7 separate regions of the Homo sapiens genome follow, and regions 1, 2, 3, 4, 5 and 7 are each linked to region 6. The links are contacts of gene promoters, found by promoter capture Hi-C in blood cells and fetal thymus (Javierre and others, 2016). All regions are on one chromosome and are shown on one strand. The core of a region is centred on a gene start or on the middle of the fragment in contact, and the rest is flanking DNA. Distances in the headings are between cores, read along the strand shown. Region 1 overlaps LMTK2 (lemur tyrosine kinase 2). Region 2 has its middle 30 kb from the start of OCM2. Region 3 overlaps LMTK2 (lemur tyrosine kinase 2). Region 4 overlaps LMTK2 (lemur tyrosine kinase 2). Region 5 overlaps LMTK2 (lemur tyrosine kinase 2). Region 6 holds the start of TMEM130 (transmembrane protein 130). Region 7 has its middle 9.4 kb from the start of LMTK2.

What was found. Contacts are between HindIII fragments. The CHiCAGO score rates a contact against its expected background, and 5 or more counts as called.
Region 1: a contact is called between a fragment that was not itself captured here and the fragment with the promoter of TMEM130 in region 6, in 2 of 17 cell types (total CD4 T cells and naive CD8 T cells). The highest score is 7.0, in total CD4 T cells.
Region 2: a contact is called between a fragment that was not itself captured here and the fragment with the promoter of TMEM130 in region 6, in 4 of 17 cell types (naive B cells, total B cells, total CD8 T cells and 1 more). The highest score is 8.4, in naive B cells.
Region 3: a fragment that was not itself captured here is called in contact with the fragment with the promoter of TMEM130 in region 6 in 7 of 17 cell types (naive B cells, total B cells, endothelial precursors and 4 more); the score reaches 9.5 in naive B cells.
Region 4: a contact is called between a fragment that was not itself captured here and the fragment with the promoter of TMEM130 in region 6, in 1 of 17 cell types (total B cells). The highest score is 5.1, in total B cells.
Region 5: a contact is called between a fragment that was not itself captured here and the fragment with the promoter of TMEM130 in region 6, in 7 of 17 cell types (naive B cells, total B cells, total CD8 T cells and 4 more). The highest score is 8.5, in naive B cells.
Region 7: a contact is called between a fragment that was not itself captured here and the fragment with the promoter of TMEM130 in region 6, in 4 of 17 cell types (naive B cells, naive CD8 T cells, total CD8 T cells and 1 more). The highest score is 7.7, in naive B cells.

The regions. Positions count from the first base shown.
Region 1 is chr7:98,114,507-98,117,379 of GRCh38, forward strand. All of the region lies in intron 1 of LMTK2 (lemur tyrosine kinase 2), which reads left to right. Among named protein-coding and RNA genes, the nearest start is that of LMTK2, 9.1 kb to the left of the region's middle. The HindIII fragment of the contact is 7,004 bases long and covers 1-2,873 here.
Region 2 is chr7:98,018,844-98,021,752 of GRCh38, forward strand. No RefSeq gene overlaps it. Among named protein-coding and RNA genes, the nearest start is that of OCM2, 30 kb to the left of the region's middle. The HindIII fragment of the contact is 3,693 bases long and covers 1-2,909 here.
Region 3 is chr7:98,173,095-98,176,005 of GRCh38, forward strand. The region is part of intron 7 of LMTK2 (lemur tyrosine kinase 2); the gene reads left to right. Among named protein-coding and RNA genes, the nearest start is that of BHLHA15, 37 kb to the right of the region's middle. The HindIII fragment of the contact is 2,612 bases long and covers 281-2,892 here.
Region 4 is chr7:98,150,937-98,153,832 of GRCh38, forward strand. LMTK2 (lemur tyrosine kinase 2) reads left to right here. Exons shown (of 14, transcript NM_014916.4): 4 at 446-519. Among named protein-coding and RNA genes, the nearest start is that of LMTK2, 46 kb to the left of the region's middle. The HindIII fragment of the contact is 4,832 bases long and covers 1-2,896 here.
Region 5 is chr7:98,131,635-98,134,391 of GRCh38, forward strand. The region is part of intron 1 of LMTK2 (lemur tyrosine kinase 2); the gene reads left to right. Among named protein-coding and RNA genes, the nearest start is that of LMTK2, 26 kb to the left of the region's middle. RefSeq lists enhancers at 757-1,257, 1,817-1,866. The HindIII fragment of the contact is 4,152 bases long and covers 1-2,757 here.
Region 6 is chr7:98,868,598-98,871,330 of GRCh38, forward strand. TMEM130 (transmembrane protein 130) reads right to left here and starts at 1,417. Exons shown (of 8, transcript NM_152913.3): 1 at 1,180-1,417. The coding sequence starts at 1,264. RefSeq lists enhancers at 315-901, 902-1,487. The HindIII fragment of the contact is 4,583 bases long and covers 1-2,733 here.
Region 7 is chr7:98,096,084-98,098,829 of GRCh38, forward strand. No RefSeq gene overlaps it. Among named protein-coding and RNA genes, the nearest start is that of LMTK2, 9.4 kb to the right of the region's middle. The HindIII fragment of the contact is 464 bases long and covers 1,020-1,483 here.

The DNA.
Region 1 (2,873 bases), core at 233-2,732, 750 kb before region 6:
AGTGCTGGGATTACAGGCATGAGCCACTGCACCTGGGTAGTTTTAATATTTTAAAAGGCTTGAGTTACCATCAGGTCAAATTAGGTGTGCAGGACCTTGTGCTATGGCTAAAGTAGCCCCTGTCTCCCTGCATCTGGTGAAGGGAGACGGTCGCATCGGGGTGTCTGCTGCAGCGCATCTGTTGTTGTTCCTGCCTCCACCCTCCACAGCACTTTTTTCAGAGCTAACTTGATCTGCCTATCGCTTGCAAAATATTCCATGCAAATTCCCATCTTCTGGCTCTCCATATATTCTCCCTGTTTGCAATTGCCTCTTTTCCTGCTTCTGTAAGTGCTGCCATCTTTTTATTTTTTTTAAAACCTCTTTGCGGACCCACCTTCCCTACTGAGTTATTGATCCTGGCCCAGCCCTTAGAGATTCCTTCCCTTGGTGAACTTGAGAGTGTATACCTGTGGAGCAAGATGTTTCATGGGGTGCCAGACGAAAACATTGGAACTGATGTTTATTCTCATTTCATCCTCTTAAAAGGTCAACTTATGTGATGTTTTAAGGTATAGAATGTGTGGTACACTAACACATTTTTTGATTTATAAATGACATGGGACGGAAAGAACATAAAATGTACTGCCTGGGTACAGTGGCTCATGCCTGTAATCCCAGCACGGTGGGAGGTCGAGGTGGGTGGATCACGTGAGGTCAGGAGTTCAAGACCAGCCTGGACAACACGGAGAAACCCCGTCTATACTAAAAAACACAAAAATTAGCTGGGTATGGTGGCACACTCCTAAAGTCTCAGCTACTCAGGAGGCTGAGGCAGGAGAGTCGCTTGAACCCAGGAGGCAGAGGTTGCAGTGAGCCGAGATCATGCCATTGCACACCAGCCTGGGCGACAGAGCGAGACTCAAAGAAAGAGAAAAAGAAAGAAGAAAGAAAGAGAAGAAAAAAAGAAAAGAAGGAAGGGAGGGCGGGAGAGAGGAGAGAGAAATTACTGCTGGCTGAAATCAAGAAAGGTTTGGTTTTGGGCCGGGTGCTGTGGCTCACACCTGTAATCTCAGCACTTTGGGAGGCCGAGGCGGGCGGGTCACGAGGTCAAGAGATTGAGACCATCCTGGCCAACATGGTGAAACCCCGTCTCTACTAAAAAGTCAGCTGAGTGTGGTGGCGGGCACTTATAGTCCCAGCTACTCAGGAGGCTGAGGTTGAACCCGGGAGGCGGAGGTTGCAGTGAGCTGAGATCGCACCACTGTGCCCAGGCCTAGTGACAGAGCAAGACTCCATCTCAAAAAAAGCAAAAAAAGAAAGGTTTGGTTTCATCATACCAGTCTACTACTTGCACTTAATAAATACCAAATACCACTTTATATCTTCATATCATTGGTTTTTTGTTTGTTTGTTTAAGAGACAAAGTCTTGCTCTGTTGCCCAGGCTGGAGTGCAGTGAACTGTCATGGTTTACTGCATCCCTGAACTCCTAGGCTCAAGCAGTCCTCCCATGTCAGCTCCTGAGTAGCTGGGACTATAGGCGCATGTAACCATGCTTGGCCAATTTTTACTTTTTGTAGAGATGGTCTACAAAAGTAAAGTTGCCATGTTGCCCAGGCTGGTCTCAAACTCCTGGCCTCAAGCAGTCCTCTGGCTTCGGCCTCCCACGGTGTTGGGATTATAGGTGTGAGCCACAGTGTCCGGCCTACATCATTGTTTAAGTCCTGTCTCTTTACCTAGTTTGCAAGGACCGTGTCTTATATCCTTGGGATAGCACATTTTTGGGATTGGTGTTTGGATGGTATGTCACAGGTTGTAGATGCTCTGTCAGCATTTGTAACTGAGGATGATGAAGATGATACTAGAGAACTAAGTTCTCCAAACCAGTACCTCAGTGTGTGTCTGTGTGTGTGTGTGTGCATGTGCGTGTGTTTGTGCGTGTGTGTGTGTGTTTGTGTCCGCGTGTGTGTGTGTGAAGGAGAGGGTATGAGCTGAAGCCTCTCATTCTCTTGCGGACTTGACTTCCCATGCAGCCACAGACCTTCACCTGGGATGAGGCCATTTATAGTTTTTTTTTTATTAAAACCTTTTTCTTTCACAACAATTTTAGATTTACAGAAACATTGCAAAGATAGTACAGAGTGTTCCTGTGTATCTTTTACCCAGTCCCTGTTGTTAACATCCTATATTAATGTAGTACATTTGTCACAACTAAGGAACAAGTATTAATATATTGCTATTAAATAAGTCCACAGCTTGTTCAGTTTCTTTAATATTTCTCTAGTGTCTTTTTTTCTCTTCCAGGAAACCACATTACATTTAGTAGTTATGCCCCTTGGGCTCCCCCAGTCCATTCCTTGTTTAGAGTGACCTGGACAGCTTTGAGGAGTACTGACTGGTCAGATATTTTGTAGAATGTCCCTCAACTGGGATTTGTCTGATGTTTTTCTCACGATTAGACTGGGGGTGTGGGTTTCTGGGAGGAAGACCACAGAGTTAAAGTGCCATTCTCATCACATCACATCAAGGGTGTGTGCACACAACATCACACAGCATGACTTGTCACTTGATCACCTGGCTGAGTAGTGTTTGTCAGCTTTCACCCTGTAAAGTTACTCTGTCCTCCCCTCCCCATGGTGTACGAGTGCAGGGTCAACACTTAATGAGTGGCAAGCTGTGCTCCACCTCTTTGCAAGGAAGTGTCTGTAGACATTCTTTGGAGTTCTGTTGAAGAGACTCGCGTATTCTCTTCTTTTCTTTTTTTCTTCCTCTTCCCCTTCCCTTTCCTTGACAGGTCTTGCTCTGTAGTCCAAACTGGAGTGCAGTAGCACAGTCATGACTCACTGCAGCCTTGAACTCCCGGGCCCATGCGATCCTCTGTTTATTTCTTTA
Region 2 (2,909 bases), core at 13-2,512, 850 kb before region 6:
GAACCTGGGAGGCGGAGGTTGTGGTGAGCCGAGGTTGCGCCACCATACTCCAGTTTGGGCAACAGAGCGAGACTCTGTCTCAAAAAAAAGAGAGACAGAGAGAGAAATAAACAAAATATTATGCAACTGTCACCACCATCCATCTCCAGAACTTTTCCATCTTCCCAAACTGAAACTGTCCCCATTAACCCTCACTCTCCATCCCCCTTATCCCCAGGCTCTGATAACCAACATTTTACTTTTTTTCTGTCTCTATCAGTTTGACTATTCTAGGTACATTATATAAGTGGAATCATGCTGTATTTGCCATTTTTTTTTTTTTGGAGTTTTGCTCTTGTTGCCCAAGCTAGAGTGCAGTGGTGCAATCTCGGCTCACTGCAACCTCTGCCTCCTAGGTTCAAGCGATTCTCCTGCCTCAGCCTCCTGAGTAGCTGGGATTACAGGCGCGCACCACCACGCCCGGCTAATTTTTTTGTATTTTTAGTAGAAACGGGGTTTTGCCATGTTAGCCAGGCTGGTCTTGAACTCCTGACCTCAGGTGATCCACCCACCTCAGCCTCCCAAAGTGCATGAGCCACCTCGCCCGGCCTTTTTGTTGTTTTTTTTTGAGACGAGTCTCACTCTGTCATCCAGGCTGGAGTGCAGTGGCACAATCTTGGGTCACTGCAACCTCTGCCTCCTGGGTTCAAGTGATTCTTGTGCTTCAGCCTCCCAAGTAGCTGAGATTACAGGCGTGCGCCGCCATGCCAAGCTAATTTTTTGTATTTTATTAGAGACAGGATTTCACCATGTTGGCCAGGCTGGTCTCAAACTTCTGACCTCAAGTGATCCACTTTCCTCCGCCTCCCAAAGTGCTGGGATTACAGGTGTGAGCCACTGTACCCGGCCATATTTGCCTCTTTGTGACTGACTTATTTCCTCTCCTCCGCTCCCTCCCTTCCTTCCCTTCTTTCTTCTTCTTCTTCTTTTTTTTTTTTTTTTTGAGACAGGGTTTGGCTTTGTCCCACAGGCTGGAGTGCAGTGGCATGATCTCTGCTCACTGCAACCTCTGCCTCCCTGGCTCAAGCAGTCCTCCCACCTCTGCCTCTCTAGAAGCTGGGACTACAGGAATACACCACCACACTTGGCTTTTAAAATTTTTTTGTAGAGATGAGGTCTCACTTTATTGCTCAGGCTGGTCTTGAACTCTTGGGCTCAAGTGATCCTCCTACCTCAGCCTCCCAAAGTGCTGGGATTACAGGTGTGAGCCACAGCGCCCAGCTGTGACTGTCTGATTTCACTGAGCATAATGTCCTCAAGGTTCCTCCATGCAGTAGCAGGTGTCAGCATTTATTTCCTTTTCAGGGCTACATAATATTTCATTGTATGGACAGACACATTTTGTTCATTCATTGGTAGGTGGACTCCTGGGTTGCTTCTACCTCTTGGCTATTGTGAATAATGCTGCAATGAACATGGGTGTACAAATATCTGTTGAGGACGGGTGCAGTGGCTCAGGCCTGTCATCCCAGCACTTTGGGAGGCTGAGGTGGGAGGATTGCTGGAAGCCAGGAGTTTGAGACCAGCCTGGCCAACATAGCAAGACCCCATCTCTACAAAAAATAAAAAAGTTAGCTGGGCATGGTGGGGAATGCCTGTAGTCCCAGCTACTTGAGCGGCTGAGGCAAGAGGATTGCTTTAGCCTGGAGGTTGAGGCCGCAGTGACCTATGATCTTGCCACTGCACTCCAGCCTGGGGGACAGAGTCAGACCCCATCTCAAAAAAAAAAAAAAAAGAGGTTAAAAAATCCCACAAATATCAGCTGGAGTCCCTGCTTTCAATTCTTTGGAGCATCTACCCAGAAGTGGAATTGCTGGATCTACATTTTTTTTTTTTTTTGAGACAGAGTCTTGCTCTGTCACCCAGGCTGGAATGCAATGGCGCGATCTCAGCTCACTGCAACCTCCGTCTCCCAGGTTCAAACAATTCTTATGCCTCAGCCTCCCGAGTAGCTGGGGCTACAGGCGCCCACCACCATGCTTGGCTCATTTTTCTATTTTTAGTAGAGACAGGGTTTCACCATATTGGCCAGGCTGGTCTCGAACTCCTCACCTCAAGTGATCCACCTGGTTCGGCCTCCCCAAGTGCTGGGATTACAGGCGTGAGCCACTGCGCCTGGCCTACCTTTGTTTTTGAAGTGGGTTGGGTGGGCCTGGGTTTCTCAAATCCCAGTATAGCACTGCATAGGATATATCACGGTCCTCAGTTCTCAGAACCTGGGTCTCCTCAGCTGTGAAAAGGGATAGTGATAATAGTGGCAATCACAGGGTTGCTGTGAGAGATACTTAAGATTTTGTAGAAACACCCACGCAGGCTGGGCGTGGTGGCTCACATCTGTAATCCCAGCACTTTGGGAGGCCGAGGTGGGAGGATCACTTGAGCACAGGAGTTCAAGACCAGCCAGGGCAACACAGTGAGATCTCCTCACTACAAAAAATATATATAAATTGGGTGGGCGTGGTGGTGTGCACCTGTAGTCCAATCTACTCGGGAGGCTGAGGTGGGAGGATTGCTTGAGCCTGGGAGGTGGGAGGTCGAGGCTGCAGTGAGCTGTGATTGTGCCCCTGCTTTCTATCCTGGGCAAAAGAATGAGACTCTCAGAAAAAAAAAAGAAAAAGAAATGATGACTTCAAGACCCAAGGAAAATTGCCCGTTAAAATTTTTTAAAATAATCTTTTAAATAAAAAATTTAAAAGAGAAACACCCATGTATCGTGTACATTGAACGGTGCCTGGCACCTGCTCAGCTTTGAATCATTTCTCCCGTGATGTTGCCATCAAATCTCCAGGGAAGGGGAAGCAGGCACCATCACGGCCACCAGGGGGCGCCGCTGCCACAGCTCTGAGTCTCGGCTGGGCCGGGCTGGCATC
Region 3 (2,911 bases), core at 337-2,836, 700 kb before region 6:
AATATGCTTAGTGTGATTCCATTTCTTAAGTATGAAAACACCTGGTCGTATTTCTAGAGGTGTGTGTGTCTTAAACAGGCGTGGAAAAGTACCGTGCCTATCAGACTGTCAACATTCCTTCAAGGGGGGACAGAGGAAAATTATTAACCTTCTTCTTACACATTTATATCTTGTTTGATTTACGATAGTAAACAAATCATTCTGGTAAAGTGTTTTTTTTTTTTTAAAGACTCAAAAAGTTACCAGTTTCTTAAGACCCAAAGCAGAATCCCTTATATGAAGCTTTATAAAGATTTCGTAATGGAGAAAGCCTACATTTAGCTTTTGATGTCTTTTATAACAGGCTGTTATCTAGCATAATTTATATTGTTAATATATCTTACAAAATGCAGATAATTACTAATACTGGTATAGGAATTCTTAAATTTTGGAGAAGGGGGTTTAATTTTAAAAGAGCATAATATTGGAATCAGCAATGTAAAATTATCAAAGACAACTAGAATCTGTATTTTTTAAATTGGCAAAGATATCAGAGTAAATAGTATTTTCCTGTGAGTTTCAAGTTAAAGTTTTACTTAATTTCAAAGTTTGTGGACTTTAGAGCAAGTAAAGATGATGAGTAAATCACATAGTTTGGGTTTTATTCAAGTTCTAAAACTCAAGTTAAAGAAAATCCTTGAGGCCGGGCACGGTGGCTCATGCCTGTAATCCCCGCACTTTGGGAGGCCGAGGCAGGCGGATCACAAGGTCAGGAGATCGAGACTGTCCTGGCTAACACGGTGAAACCCCGTCTCTACTAAAAATACAAAAAATTAGCCGGATGTGGTGACGGGTGCCTGTAGTCCCAGCTATTCGGGAGGCTGAGGCAGGAGAATGGCGTGAACCCGGGAGGTGGAGCTTGCAGTGAGCCGAGATCATGCCACTGCACTCTAGTCTGGGTGACAGAGCGAGATTCTGTCTCAAAAAACAAAAAACCCTTGAAACCATTGACAGCTGTTTCATTTTGTTGTAAAAAAAAAAAAAAAAAAGAAAAAGTAATCATATCTATATTAAATTTCTGTTTGGGGCAAAGTTTTGTGTTTTAAGATCTTTTTTGTCAGTAGCATATCATATAGTATATTTTTAAGTTGGAATTTAGAATATTTATTGGTTGACTTAAAGTAGGACTTCCTCTGTTGGTTGAAAATAGAACAACCTACATGTCCAATTAAAGTTCTTAGCTCCATTTGGAAACTAATCTAGTAAGGCACCCACAGTGAAGTTGTATTTCTACCTATTGTTTAAGAAGAGCCTTAACCTGGAGTCTGAGGAGCCTGTGTCTCTGAAGTCGTGCATGTGACTTTTGGAAAGCCATGTAAACAGCAGGCGCTGCCAGCTTGCTGCTGTGCCATCCCACTTGCCTTGCTGGCCTGGAGCCCAGGACTTCCTGTCCCCTGCCTGCCAGTCTCCTGAGCAGCCTGTCCGTGAGATGCCACCAGGTCGCTGTGATGAGCTGAGCCAGGGGGTTCTCATGGGCGGCCTGCCTCCTCGCAGTGACTCATGGAGCTGGAGACCTGGAGGGGGTAGCCTTGCGGAGTACCTGGGTGACCATTGTGTACAAAAGAACCTCTATAGGATTTGCCAGGTTGTAGCATTACAGTTACTTTCTGCTGTGCAACACTGGGGTTAGTGTGTAGCGAACTTCCACAGCCTGCAGAGTTCAATGACAAGGTGAGAGGTAGAGAAATGCATTTAAAATCCAGTGACAAGGTGAGAGACAGAGAAATACATTTAAAATCAAAGCAAAGTGCACACCTGTTGCTCACTACCGCCCCAGCAGGAGAGTGGAAACGCATGTTCTCATTTGGCAGGGTGTTTGCCGTGTTCCATGCATTTGCAGAACGTTCTGTGAGTAGTGATTTGATCGTCAGGGCCACCCCACGTGCCACGAGGCAGGTGCCATTATTCATCCCAGTTACAGAGGAGAATACTGAGGCTTGGGGTGCTGAGCGGTTGGTCTGTCTCAGCCACTCATTTGATCATTTGATGAGCAGTTTGTACCCACGTGCACATACCGTGTGTGGTCATTTCTGCAGGAGGAGGAAGAGTTACTTTGGGAAGAGTCCAGGTCGGTTTTTGGAAGGAGGTGGCGTTTTAGTGATCCTTGAAGAATGGGCATCAGTTGAAGGCTGGAGGACATTCAGAATTTCTGGAGAAGGGAGTAGCAAGATGATGTATATGGTAGGAGGAAGAGAAAGAAAGGGAGTTTAGGGAAATGTCAGATAGTCCAGTGTTACCAGAAAAGAAGACGCAGGAGAGAAGATAGTGGGAGATAAGAATAGAGACACAGCTTGAAACCAAATTACAGAGGGCCTGAGTGCCAAGATAAGGCCTTCAGGCTGTGTTCTGTAGGCAGTAGGATGGCATGCCCAGAGCTTTGTGTGTGCACGTGCGTGCATGTTTAATCACTATTGCACCTCAGCTTAGGCTGGTTTAGAAAGAGAAGGCACTACCTAAACGAAAACCAAACCGGAATTCATATATGGTGGGTGTCCATGAAGTTTCCTTATTTCCCTTTCTACATGGAAGACTTGCTGAAGGCAGGGATTGTATCTTCCTGACCTTTGTATCTCCCATGATGTATGTCACACAGAAATGAGGAAGGCTTCAAGGGAAAGGAACCAGTTTGACTGCAGCTACAACCCAAGAAGAGATGGAAAGACTGTAATCAGCCGAGTAGCTACACTGGGAAGGTGATTAAAGAGCTTTCATTTTAAAAGGCTCGAGGTCCAGAGGGTTTCATGGGTGTCCTCTGTCTGACCTTTAATGAACAGGTGGCTCCAGTGTATTTAAACTATTCCGGACCATAAAGAAGACGGAAATTTCTATAACTCATATCATGAATCCAACACAAGCTTAATAGCAAAAGATG
Region 4 (2,896 bases), core at 9-2,508, 720 kb before region 6:
CTTACAAATATTAAAGTGTATCAAAGTGTATATTTTAAATATGTGGACTTTATTGTATATTGATTATACTTCAGTAAAACTTTTTAAAAATTAAGGAGAGTAGTTTAAGAGTGCTAATCATATGTCTAGGTGAGCTGTTCAAGAGAGATGAAAATGAAGACTAAGTAAAGGCCATTGGCCTGGTGATTGGTGGTTACATGAGAGTAGCTGGATCGGAAAAAAAACAATGCGCAAGGTATTAAAGAATTGGTAGGAAACTCATTAAAAAATATTGTCAGTTTTAAAGCCTAAAACTGTTTTGGCATGATTCGTTTAAAAGAGGTGTTTTATGTATTTATTCCTACCTTTATTTGCACAAGCCTTTATGTTAGTGTTCATACTTTATAGGTTATATATTTAATATTTAGATACTTATATTTCATTTTTAATGTTTTTTTCTCTACAGAGGGATTGAAGTCTCAAGTTGCCCGCCACAGTCTAAACTACATACAGGAAATTGGAAATGGCTGGTTTGGAAAGGTAAGATGCTCTTCACTTGCATTTGTTTTCCTCTGAATGATACTGTGTTCAGTGCAGGGCTGATGAAGAATTGTGTTGTGTGGAGTTCCACGTGCCCTGTGGGCCCTGCGTTACTAATTGAGTTTCCCCATTCCCCCTGTGGCAGCGTGGGGGCGTGAGCTTCAGCCTTGCTGTGTGTCGAGCCTTTTCCAGAAAGGATGTCTTACGGCATACAGGCTGTTATAACAAAATATCATAAACTGGGTGGCTTATAAACAACAGAAATTTATTTCTCACAATCCTGGAGGCTGGGAAGTCCAAGATCAAGGTGCTGGCTGAATCCGGATCAGGTGAAGGTGGCACTTTCCTGCTGCGTCCTCCCGTGGTTGAAGGAGCAGGGCAGCTCTCTGGAACCTCTTTTGGAGGGATGCAAATCCCTTTCCCTCCCAGAGGCCTTCCTCCTCTCCATCGCATTGGTCATTAGGTTTCAGTTTACGGATTTGGGCAGGACAAAGGACACAGACATTTCGATCATAACAAAGGCCTTTAAAAAAAAAGTATCTGAGACTTTTCTAATTGTTGACATAAGAAAGTAAGAAGGGAAAAGAGACCTGGAATCTTAGCAGCTTCAGCTTTGTATCCTTCTCAGGTTAGATTGTTTTTTTAATCCCTTCCCCTTATAGCACTTAAGCCACTTTAGAACTGTAAATACAGTCTTACAATGAAGACCACCATGAACAACTAGTCTTCTCTCATAGCCCGTCAAGTGGCCTGTAGTAACAATGCTTTGTTGATTTTTTTATCGTAGATGGCTCAGAAGGAGTAATCTCCTACAGCCATTTCCACAGTACTGCAGTCGTGCTCTGCAAGAGGTTCCTAATGGAGTAGGGATTACATCGTAAGCAGGATGCTTACAACAGGAGGATGCACTTCCCAGTAGTCAGCCATCTGCTGCTGCTTCTCCTTCCCTTCAGCGTTGTCTGTATCTTTCATGTCCTCCCAACTGTTTGAGTTCTCTTCTGCACCATTCAGCAAAACCTGTTACGTAGCAGCCATTGTTCTTGGTGCTAGGGGCACGATGTGGAGGAAGATGGGTCAAACCTTGACCTGTGTGGAGTCCTGTATGAGAGATCAAACAAAACCCTGTCTTCACAAGGCTTAGATATCTAGTTGGGAGGGTCACACAGCAAACAGTCAATTGTGGGAGGTGGGCTCAGAGAGGTAGAGGGCAGGCAGGTGATCTGGGATATTGTGTGCCTAGAGACTGCCTTGCTCGGAATGAAACGGGGAAATACTCTGGTGCTTGAGAGATCATGATGTAATTGAGTTACCTTTTTAAAAGGATCACTCTGGAAGTCATAGAGGGGGAAGGTGAAAGCAGGGAGGAGATGGGCTAGAAGGCTCCTGCAGGCCCAGGCAGCTTGAACCTGGATGCTAGCGGTGGAGGTGGCAAGAAGTGGTAGGACCCAAGACAGATGTTCAGACGAGAGCATGCGGGTGTAGACTTAGAGGGGATAAGACATGGACTGTGGAGGAAGAGGCAGTCAGATTGACTGCTGAGGGCCTGATGAACTGGAAGAATGGAGTTGCTGTCAACTGAAATGCAACAGACACTGCAGGAGAGGCAGGAGGAAGTCGGGAGTTCATCTTTGCTATGTCAGGTGTGAGTTGGCCGTTAGACAACTCAGTGGGGGCACCAAGTAGCTGAACTGGAAATGCAGAGCAAGAGTGAAGGAGAGAGGGTCCCGGCTGGACATGTAAATCCGAGTGATCTCGTTTTATAGAGTGTATTCAAAGCTAGGAGACTAGGTGAAGTCATGGAGAATTTCAAAGTGGAAACCAGGGGGAGGCTCTGCAGCAGGGAGAGGCCAGTGCAGTCAGGGAGAAGCAGTGAGGAGGGAGAAGCCCAGGAGACAGGAGTCTTCTGAAAGTTCCAAGAAGATTAATTGCAGTAATGCTGCAGCTTACAAATGGAGTAAGATGAAGCCTGGGAGAATGAGGATTCAGCAGCATAAGTTCCTTGGCGTCCTTGAAAGAAGTTGTTCAGGGGGAAATGGTGATGGTACATCCTTGCGTGGAATGGATTCAAGAGAGAAAGAGGAGACGGTGCATTTAGACAACCCTCTTGAAGAGTTTTACTCCTCAAGGAGCAATAGGCTGGACGCGGTAGCTCACGCCTGTAATTCCAGTGCTTTGGGAGGCCCAGGTGGGAAGGATCACTTGAGGCGAGGAGTTTGAGACCAGCCTGGGCAACATAGCACAACCCCATCTCTAAAAAAAAATTCGCTGAGTGGGATGGCACACGCCTGTGGTCCCAGCTACACGGAAGGCTGAGGCAGGAGGATCACCTGGGCCCAGGAGTTCGAGGCTGCAGTGAGCCATATTTGCACCACTGTGC
Region 5 (2,757 bases), core at 177-2,676, 740 kb before region 6:
CAGCTATTGATATAAATTTCATGTGTCATAAAATGTTATTTTGGATTAAAAATACGATTTAAAAACGTGAATTCTTAATTATTCTTAGCTTTCAGGCCATACCAAAACAAAAACTGTGGGCAGGATTTCACCCAGTGGCCACAGTTTCCTGATCCCTATTACCCGAAGAGAGCAGCTGCTTAGACCACAGGGGTACCAAAGTTCAATGTTACAAAACTGTGATACATTGTTTTCTAAGGTAGTTGTGACACCAGCAGTGAATAAGCAGCTCTACTTCCTGAACCGAGGTCTTTACATTAGCAGTTCACTTTAAAAGAAACCAGGGCTCTTTGGGGAAATGATTGATAGGAGGTTTGAAACAGAAACTATAAAAGATGAGCCTGGAACAACCCAGGGAACAAGAACTCCACCCAGGCCTGCCGGGACCCTGTGGGAGGGCTTGGGAGCAAACCGCTTTAGAGGCCCTGCTTGCCAAAGACAGGACAATGGGAGTGTCAATCAGAACAACCACAACGGATGGAAGCCTGTGGGTGCTTTAAATCCATTAGCTCATGATGATACCACAAAACAGTGACAGCAGCTCTCTGAACTGGTCACTGCCAGAGGATGCTAGTGAACCAACTTTTTTTTTTTTGAGACGGAGTCTCACTCTGTCGCCCAGGCTGGAGTGCAGTGGCGCAATTTTGGCTCACTGCAACCTCTGCCTCCTGGGTTCAAGCAATTCCCCTGCCTCAGCCTCCCGAGTAGCTGGGACCACAGGCGCGCGGCACCACGCCTGGCTAATTTTTTGTATTTTAGTAGAGACGGGATTTCACCATGTTGGTCAGGATGGTCTCAATCTCCTGACCTTGCGGTCCCCCGACCTTGGCCTCCCAAAGTGCTGAGATTACAGGCGTGAGCCACCGCACCCAACCACCAACTCATTTTTTAAAAACTGGCAAAGAGAAAGATTGAAGTATCTAGTCTGCCTTTTCCTTATGACTTGAACCACTGGGTAACCAAATAGTAAATGTGAGGAAATTTCTCTTTATAAAAGCATATCCACTAGTGACTGAACAAGGAATGACAACATTAGGATATCCAGCATTTTGTAATCCCTAATGGATCTAAATATTGATCATCATTTCTTTTTATCTGTGGCCTTTAATTTTTTTTTTAATTGAATCCCAAAATGGCTTCACAGACAACTCTTTAGTTAATTACATATGGGTCCAGTTTCATCTGAGGTTCTAGAGATCGTGAATCAGATAATTGGGCTGGAGTTATAATGGTTGAATTAATAGGTGGTATTCCTGGCTTACCTTGAGTCATTACTGAGAAATTGCATTCTCCAAATTACCTGTCTCTAAAACAGATAATATGTACCTACCTCTTAGAGTTTCTCAAGTTTTCTGCTTATTGAATCAAGTTCTAGGTAGCTATTAAAATGCTTTGAAAACTATTAAATGAAAACTCACAGAATGTGCTGTAGACATGCCGGGTGTTTTTTAATCAGTGTCTTGGGGAAAGCATACGTATTCCGCCAGACCTCATGTGGTGCTTGCTCTCAATTTGTGATGGGAAAAGCTGCCTAAATGTATGGTGATGCCTGTTCTTGATGTTGTTTGGTAGATGACTGGCTCGACGTATGCCCTTCTCAGTGCTGTAGGCTGCATGTTAAAGCTGCCTTTCTTTATCAGGTTCTAACAGCTGCAGTCAGGAACTGTGTCAGGGACTGGTTTCTAGTTTGACCACGGCGGTATAGGGATTTTATTTGTGGTTCCTCAAGTCTAGAATTTACTTCCTCTCTGTGGTTTCTGCAAACCCATCTCACCTTCCAGCCTATGTTTGATTTCCTCATTTTATGGAAGTTTTTTTTTTTCATTGCTAAATAGAGTTTTTTTTTATAGCACAGTGCTTTTGGATTCATCAAAAGAAAAATACTTTAAAGTTTTAAAAAGGGGTAACTAAAAATGTCTACTTGAAGCTACCTAGTCAATTTCTGAGGCAGTAGTTTTAATGGGACTGTTAGATACTGAGGTTGAGTAAGTGTGGTTCACACTGAGGAAATCTAAGGGAGAGTAGGTGCCCTGCAGACCCTAGCAGAAGTAAGTGTAGCAGAGAGCTAGGGCAAAGCGTGGCATAGTTCATTGGTCTTAACCTGGTTATACTCTTCATACCTATCTAGTGACTCACAGAGGACACTTTCATGAATCAGATAATTAGGCTGGCATTCATACAGTCCTTATCCAGTTCTGTAATAAATAAGTAGTTTGTGATGCTTAAAAAAACAAAACAAAAACTCTGGGTGCAAGAGAGGAAAAAGTAAGTCAAGATCAGCTATGTGGAGTTTGAGGAAGTATAAACTACCCTAATTAATGACAGACTTGGGTTCAAAGGACAGTGGGCTGTTTTTAAGTGTTAAAGGTTAACCACATAGAGGCAGAGCAGTGGGGTTTCAAGGAAAGCGAGGGAGCTTGCACCCAGCACACCTAAACTCAGTCTGGCCTGCCACTGTCCCACCTGGGTTCATGGGCATATCAGTTTCTTCATCTGTGACGTGGAGCTGGTCGTATTACCTCAGAGGTATTGTGACAGCCAAATGAAATAATGCTGTATTTTATCAAATGTCAGATGAGGTTGATGATAAGTCACACCCTTAGTTTTGTACCATTAAAAAGAAGAAATGCTGCCAGTTAAGCTAACTTGAAGTGTGAGATGCACCTGAAATTCAGAGATGCAGTGGACAAACTGTGTGTTATTTTTTCTTTTTATTCT
Region 6 (2,733 bases), core at 167-2,666:
GGACTCCAGAAAGGGGAAGGGTAGAAAAGTCTCCCCGACGGGTGAGGGAGAAGATGTTTCCCAACTCCACTCTTAGCCACTGTGATTTTGACCACATCAAGGGTGCAATTGGCTAGAATGGGAACCACACATGATTTCCAAATAATTAATTCACTTTTGTTATTATTTTCTTTTTCTTTTGCAATTTAGGACACATTGAAAATCTCTGACACAAATCAACCTGATGGACAAGAGACCCCTTTCCTGTATTTCCAGGAGGAAATAGGTAATCTTGTCCAAGTGCAATTCCCATAAAATTCGTCTAATTCATCCCTGAGTTGCAGGTTTTCTTTGACCTCATGGTTTTTCTTTCACAAATTTTCATTAGATCCCTTGCTCTCTCTCTCCACCGCTCTTTTATGAGGGGGGAGGGGGTGAAAAGTGGTGGATAGTATTCAACCTTCTTAGCTGCCCACGTCCCATCTGTCCCTCGAATAGTCTTAAATCTGGGTCCTTTTATGGTTCCCAAAATGTGGCAGAGAGGTGGGTGCTGGCTTTCTGGCGGTGGGGAAGTGGGGGCAGTAGACACACAACCCTGCTTCCCCCACTCCCCCACCCACACACACACCCCAGGAACCTGTCAGCTCCGGGTCCATTTTGGAAATCACCACCAGAGAGGAAATGGCAGCCTGGCCTCCTGGGCTCTAAATTCGCATCTCCCCAAAGCCAGCACCAACACGGTGGGAAACCCCTCTAGATGAGGCGACATTTTAAGGCAAAAACGTTGCCCATCCCGTGCTCCCTGGGGGACTGGGGAATTGTGGCGCGATGACGGACCCTGGCGCATCCCCGCCTCCCTGCCTCGTCCTCCCCTCCCTTAGCGGGTGCATGGTCCCCAGGCATCGACGGATGCGCCGGCCACCCCCGCGCGGTTTCCAGGGCAGGGCCAGCCTGGGGGGGTGGAAGCAGGAATCCAGGGGGTGCGGGGAGCCCCCTCCAGTGCCCAGGCGACTTTGGGGAACAAGGATGAAAGGAGAGGGGAAAGGGCGCTGCAGTGGCCTCAGCCGAGGAGGGAGATGCGCGCAGGGCGCACGGTGCCACCTCCGCAATCCCTGCTCCCGGGCCCACTCGCCCGCTGAGACGGTTCCAGGCCCCGGGCGGGCTGCGGCTGCAGGGAGGCCGGATTGCCCAGCGCCTTACCTGCGGCCACCCCTGCCGGGGCCCAGGGCAGGAGGCAGGCAAGCCAGAGGATGCGGCCGAGGCGCGACCACACTGCCTGGGCCATTGCGGGGCCCGGAGCGGGAGAAGCGTGGGGCGGACGCGGAGGGAATGCAGCTGGAGCTCGAGAACTGCGGCGGTCGCTCCTCCGGGCGCGCAGCGCGGGCGGTGCGGGGAGGTGCGGGCGCCGTGCTCGCTCGTCCTCGCCGGGGGACGCTCTGTCGCTGCGCGCCGCCGCCGCCGCCCACAGCCCGCTGCGCGACCCCGGCCCACGTCAGCCGCGCCGCGCGCCCTCCTCCTCCTCCCGCCGCCCCTTGCTCCCGCGTCCCTCTCCACGGCCGCGTCCTCCCTCTCCGGGTCTCTTCCCACGGCCGCGCCCCCTGCCCTCCTGGAGTCCACGATCGCCCCTCCCAGCTTGCTTCCCCTCTAGGGGTTCCAGAGCTCCCTTCCTGCGCCCTGGCTCCTCCCCGCATCCCTCCCCACCCCAAATCCACCCCCGGCCGCATCCTTCCCCTCCACTACCCGAAACCACGCCCCCCGCACCCGCATTTTTCCCTTCCCCCGAGCCCCTCCCCGCCCTGGATCCGATGCCGCCGGCTCTGACTCAGCGTCCCCAGGGGCGTGCGCTGCGCTGCAAGCCGCCTGCAGGTCCCTTGGGGCTCTCCTCCAGGTGCCTTCTCTCTGCACGCTCGTGGCTCCGAGATGCTACTCCTCATTCAAGAACTGTTGAGAGCTTAAGGTGCGCCAGGCGTTGGGCGAAAGGCCTCGAAATTCCTCTTGCTGCTGCTGCTGCTGCTGCTTCCTCTTTTCTTTTTTTTTTTTTTTTAATCTTGAGACAGAGTCTCGCTCTGTCCCAGAATGGCGCGATCTCGGCTCACTGCAACCTCCGCCTCCCGGGTTCAAGCGATTCTCCTGCCTCAGCCTCCCTAGTAAGATGGGATTACAGGTGCCCGCCACCAGGCCTGGCTAATTTTTGTATTTTTAGTAGAGACGGGGTTTCACCATGTTGGCCAGGTTGGTCTCAAACTCCTGGCCTCAAGTGATCCTCTCGCCTCAGCCTCCCAAAATGTTGGGATTACAGGTGTAAGCCACTGTGCCCAGCCTCTTGCCCCTTCTTGATAGAGGGGCCTGAGCACCCGGCCCCTGCCGTGGGCTTGATGTCATCCCCCGGTTTACCCTCTCACAGCTGCTGTTAAGATGGGGCTCCTGCTCGTATCTGGGCCCAGGGCAACTTCTTTGTCACTGAGGGCCTTGTGGGAGTCAGGCTACTGCGGTGAGGGGTGACCAGCCTACACAGTTACTGCCATTTGCCTTAGAGGAGCAGGGCTGGGCTCTCCTAGAAGCTGGAGGGGCCTGGCTGGCCTTAAACGCTGGAAGCCCGGTGGGTTCTGGTCCCAGCTATGCTTCCGCTTTGCTACGGCTACCTGGGCGAGGGATCCTCCCACACAGTGAGGGCCTTTGACCTCCTCTCTGGCCCGTGGAGCACGGATGGACCATCACTGCACCACCCAGTGCATTGACATCAAGGCGTCTAAA
Region 7 (2,746 bases), core at 2-2,501, 770 kb before region 6:
ATTCTGCCAATCTCTACCTTTTGATTAGAGTGATAAGTCCATTTCCATCTAATGTAATTATCAATAAGATACGATGAAGATGATGATGATAATTTACTAATTTTTTTAAAGTAAGGGTTTCACTCTGTCACTCAGGCTGGAGTGCAGTGGTGCAATTATAGCTCATTGCAGCCTCAAACTCCTGGACTCAAACAATCCTTTCACCTCAGTCTCCTGAGAAGCTAGGATTACATTTGCATGCTACCACACCCAGCTAATTTAAACAATTTTTGTAGAGATGGAGCCTCACTATGTTGCCCAGGGTTGTCTCAAACTCTGGGCTTAAGTGATCCTCCTGCCTTGGCCTCCCAGATCCCTGGGAGTACAGGTGTGAGTTACTGTGCTGCTCATCAGCAAAATAGGATTATGTCTGTCATTTTGCTATGTATTTTCTATATGTCTTATGTGCTTTTTATTCCTCTATTCCTCCATTACTGCCCACTTTTGTCTAAAGTAGATATTTTCTAGTGTACAATTTTAATTCACTTGTTACTTGTTTTTAAATATATATTTCGAGTTTTCTTAGTGGTTGCCCTAGAAATTACAATTAACATAATACCCTAAAACAAGCTAGATACGATTAATAGCAGCTTAATTTCAATAGTGTTTAAAACGTTGCTCCAGTATAGCTCTCTTCCCACATCCATGTTTTGTGCTATTATTGTCATACAAATTATATCTTTATATAAGTCCCTCTGCCAGTTTTATAATTGTTGCTTTATGTAGTAGTCTTTTAAATCAGATAGGAGAAAAGAAAGTTATAAAGAAAAATACATTTATATTTATATTCTTATATTTAGTGATATAGTTTCCTTCTCCTGGTGTTTTTTATTTCTTTATGTGAATTCAAGTTTCTGAATAGTGACTTTATTTCTGTTTAAAGGACTCCCTTTAGTATCTCTTGTAGTAAACATTGTTAGCAACAATTTCACTCTGTTTTTGTGTATTTGGAAATGTCTTGATATTTATTTTATTTTTGAAGCTTTACTGGACATATAATTCTTGTTTGACAGTCTTTGTCTTTCAGCTCTTTAACATGTCAGCACTTTGAATTTGTTGTCCCACAACCTTCTGGCCTCCATGGTTTCTGATGAAAAGTCAGCTGTTAATCTCATTGTGGAACTTCTATATATAATGAGGTTCTTTTTCATGTTGCTTTCTAGATTCTCTCTTTGTCTTTGTCTTTGAACAGTTGGTTATGATGTGCCCAGATGTGGATTTCTTTAAGTTTATCCTACTTGGAGTTATTTCAGCTTCTTGGATGTGTAGCCTAACACTTATCATGACATCTGGGAGATTTTCAGCCATTATTTCTTCAAATGTACATATTTTTTCCCTTTCTCTCTATCCTCTCCTTCTGGGAATCCCCCACTTTATGTATTTTGGTATGCTCAATGGCATCCCACAGAGCTTTGAGGCTTTGTTATTTTTTTCTTTTAAAATAAGCTTTCGATAGTTTCAGATTTATAGAAAGGTGTAAAGCTAGTACAGAGAATTCCTATATATCCCACACCCAATTTTTCCTGTTATTACTTTACATTAATGTGGTATATTTGTTATCATTAATGAATTGCTATTGATATATTATTCCAACTAAAGCCCATATCTTACTCAGATTTCCTTAGTTTTCACCTAATGTCATTTTTCTGTTCCAAGATCTTATTTTGGATACCACATTATATTTAGTTATCATATCTCCTTAGACTCCTCTTGGCCATGACAATTTCTCAGACTTTCTTTGTTTTTCATGACCCTGACATTAAAAAAAATGTTTTTTAAATAACCAAATACTTGCAACAAATGACCTTGACATTTTTGAAGACTACTGGTCAGGTATTTTGTAGAATGTCCCTTAATTCGGATTTGTCTGATTGGACTAATGTTATACATTGAGGATGAAGACCACAGCTCATCACATCATATCAAAAATACATAGTATCAACATGGCTTAACAGTGTTGATGCAGACCTTGTCAGGTTTCTCCACACTTTGGTAAAACTACTCCCCCCACCCCCACACTATACTTTGTTCATTTTTATTCATTTGGTTTTCCTTCTACTCCTCAGACTGGATGATCTCAATTTACCTATTTTCAAGTTCATTGATGCTTTTTTCTGTCAGCTCAAATCTGCTATTGAGTCCTTCTAGTGAATTTTAAATGTCAGTTATTGTACTTCTCAACTCCAGAATTTTTATTGGGTTCTTTTTAAAGTAACTGCTGTCTCTTTGTCAATATTCTCTTTTTTTAAGTAATTGTGTGCACAGGTAATGAACTCCCTTTTTTGAAGTATAATTCAATAGCTTTAAACATATTTACAGATAAAATTTTAGAACATTTTCATCATCCCCCAAAGAAATTCCATACCCATTAGCAGTCATTCCTCATTTCTTCCCCACCCTGTCAGCCCCAGGCAATTACTAATCTATTCCCTTCCCTCTTCAGCCCCTGGCAAACACTAACTTACTTTCTGTCTGTATGGATTTGCCTATGCTAGACATTTCATAAAAATTGAATCATACAATATTTGGTCTTTTCTAACTGGCTTTGTTCACTAAGCATTATATATTTAAAGTTTACCCATGGTGTACCACATATCAATACTTCATTCCCTTTTTTGTTGGTGACTAATATTCTATTTTAAGGATATACTATATTTTGCTAATCCATTCATCAGTTGATGGACATCTGGGTTATTTCTACCTTTGG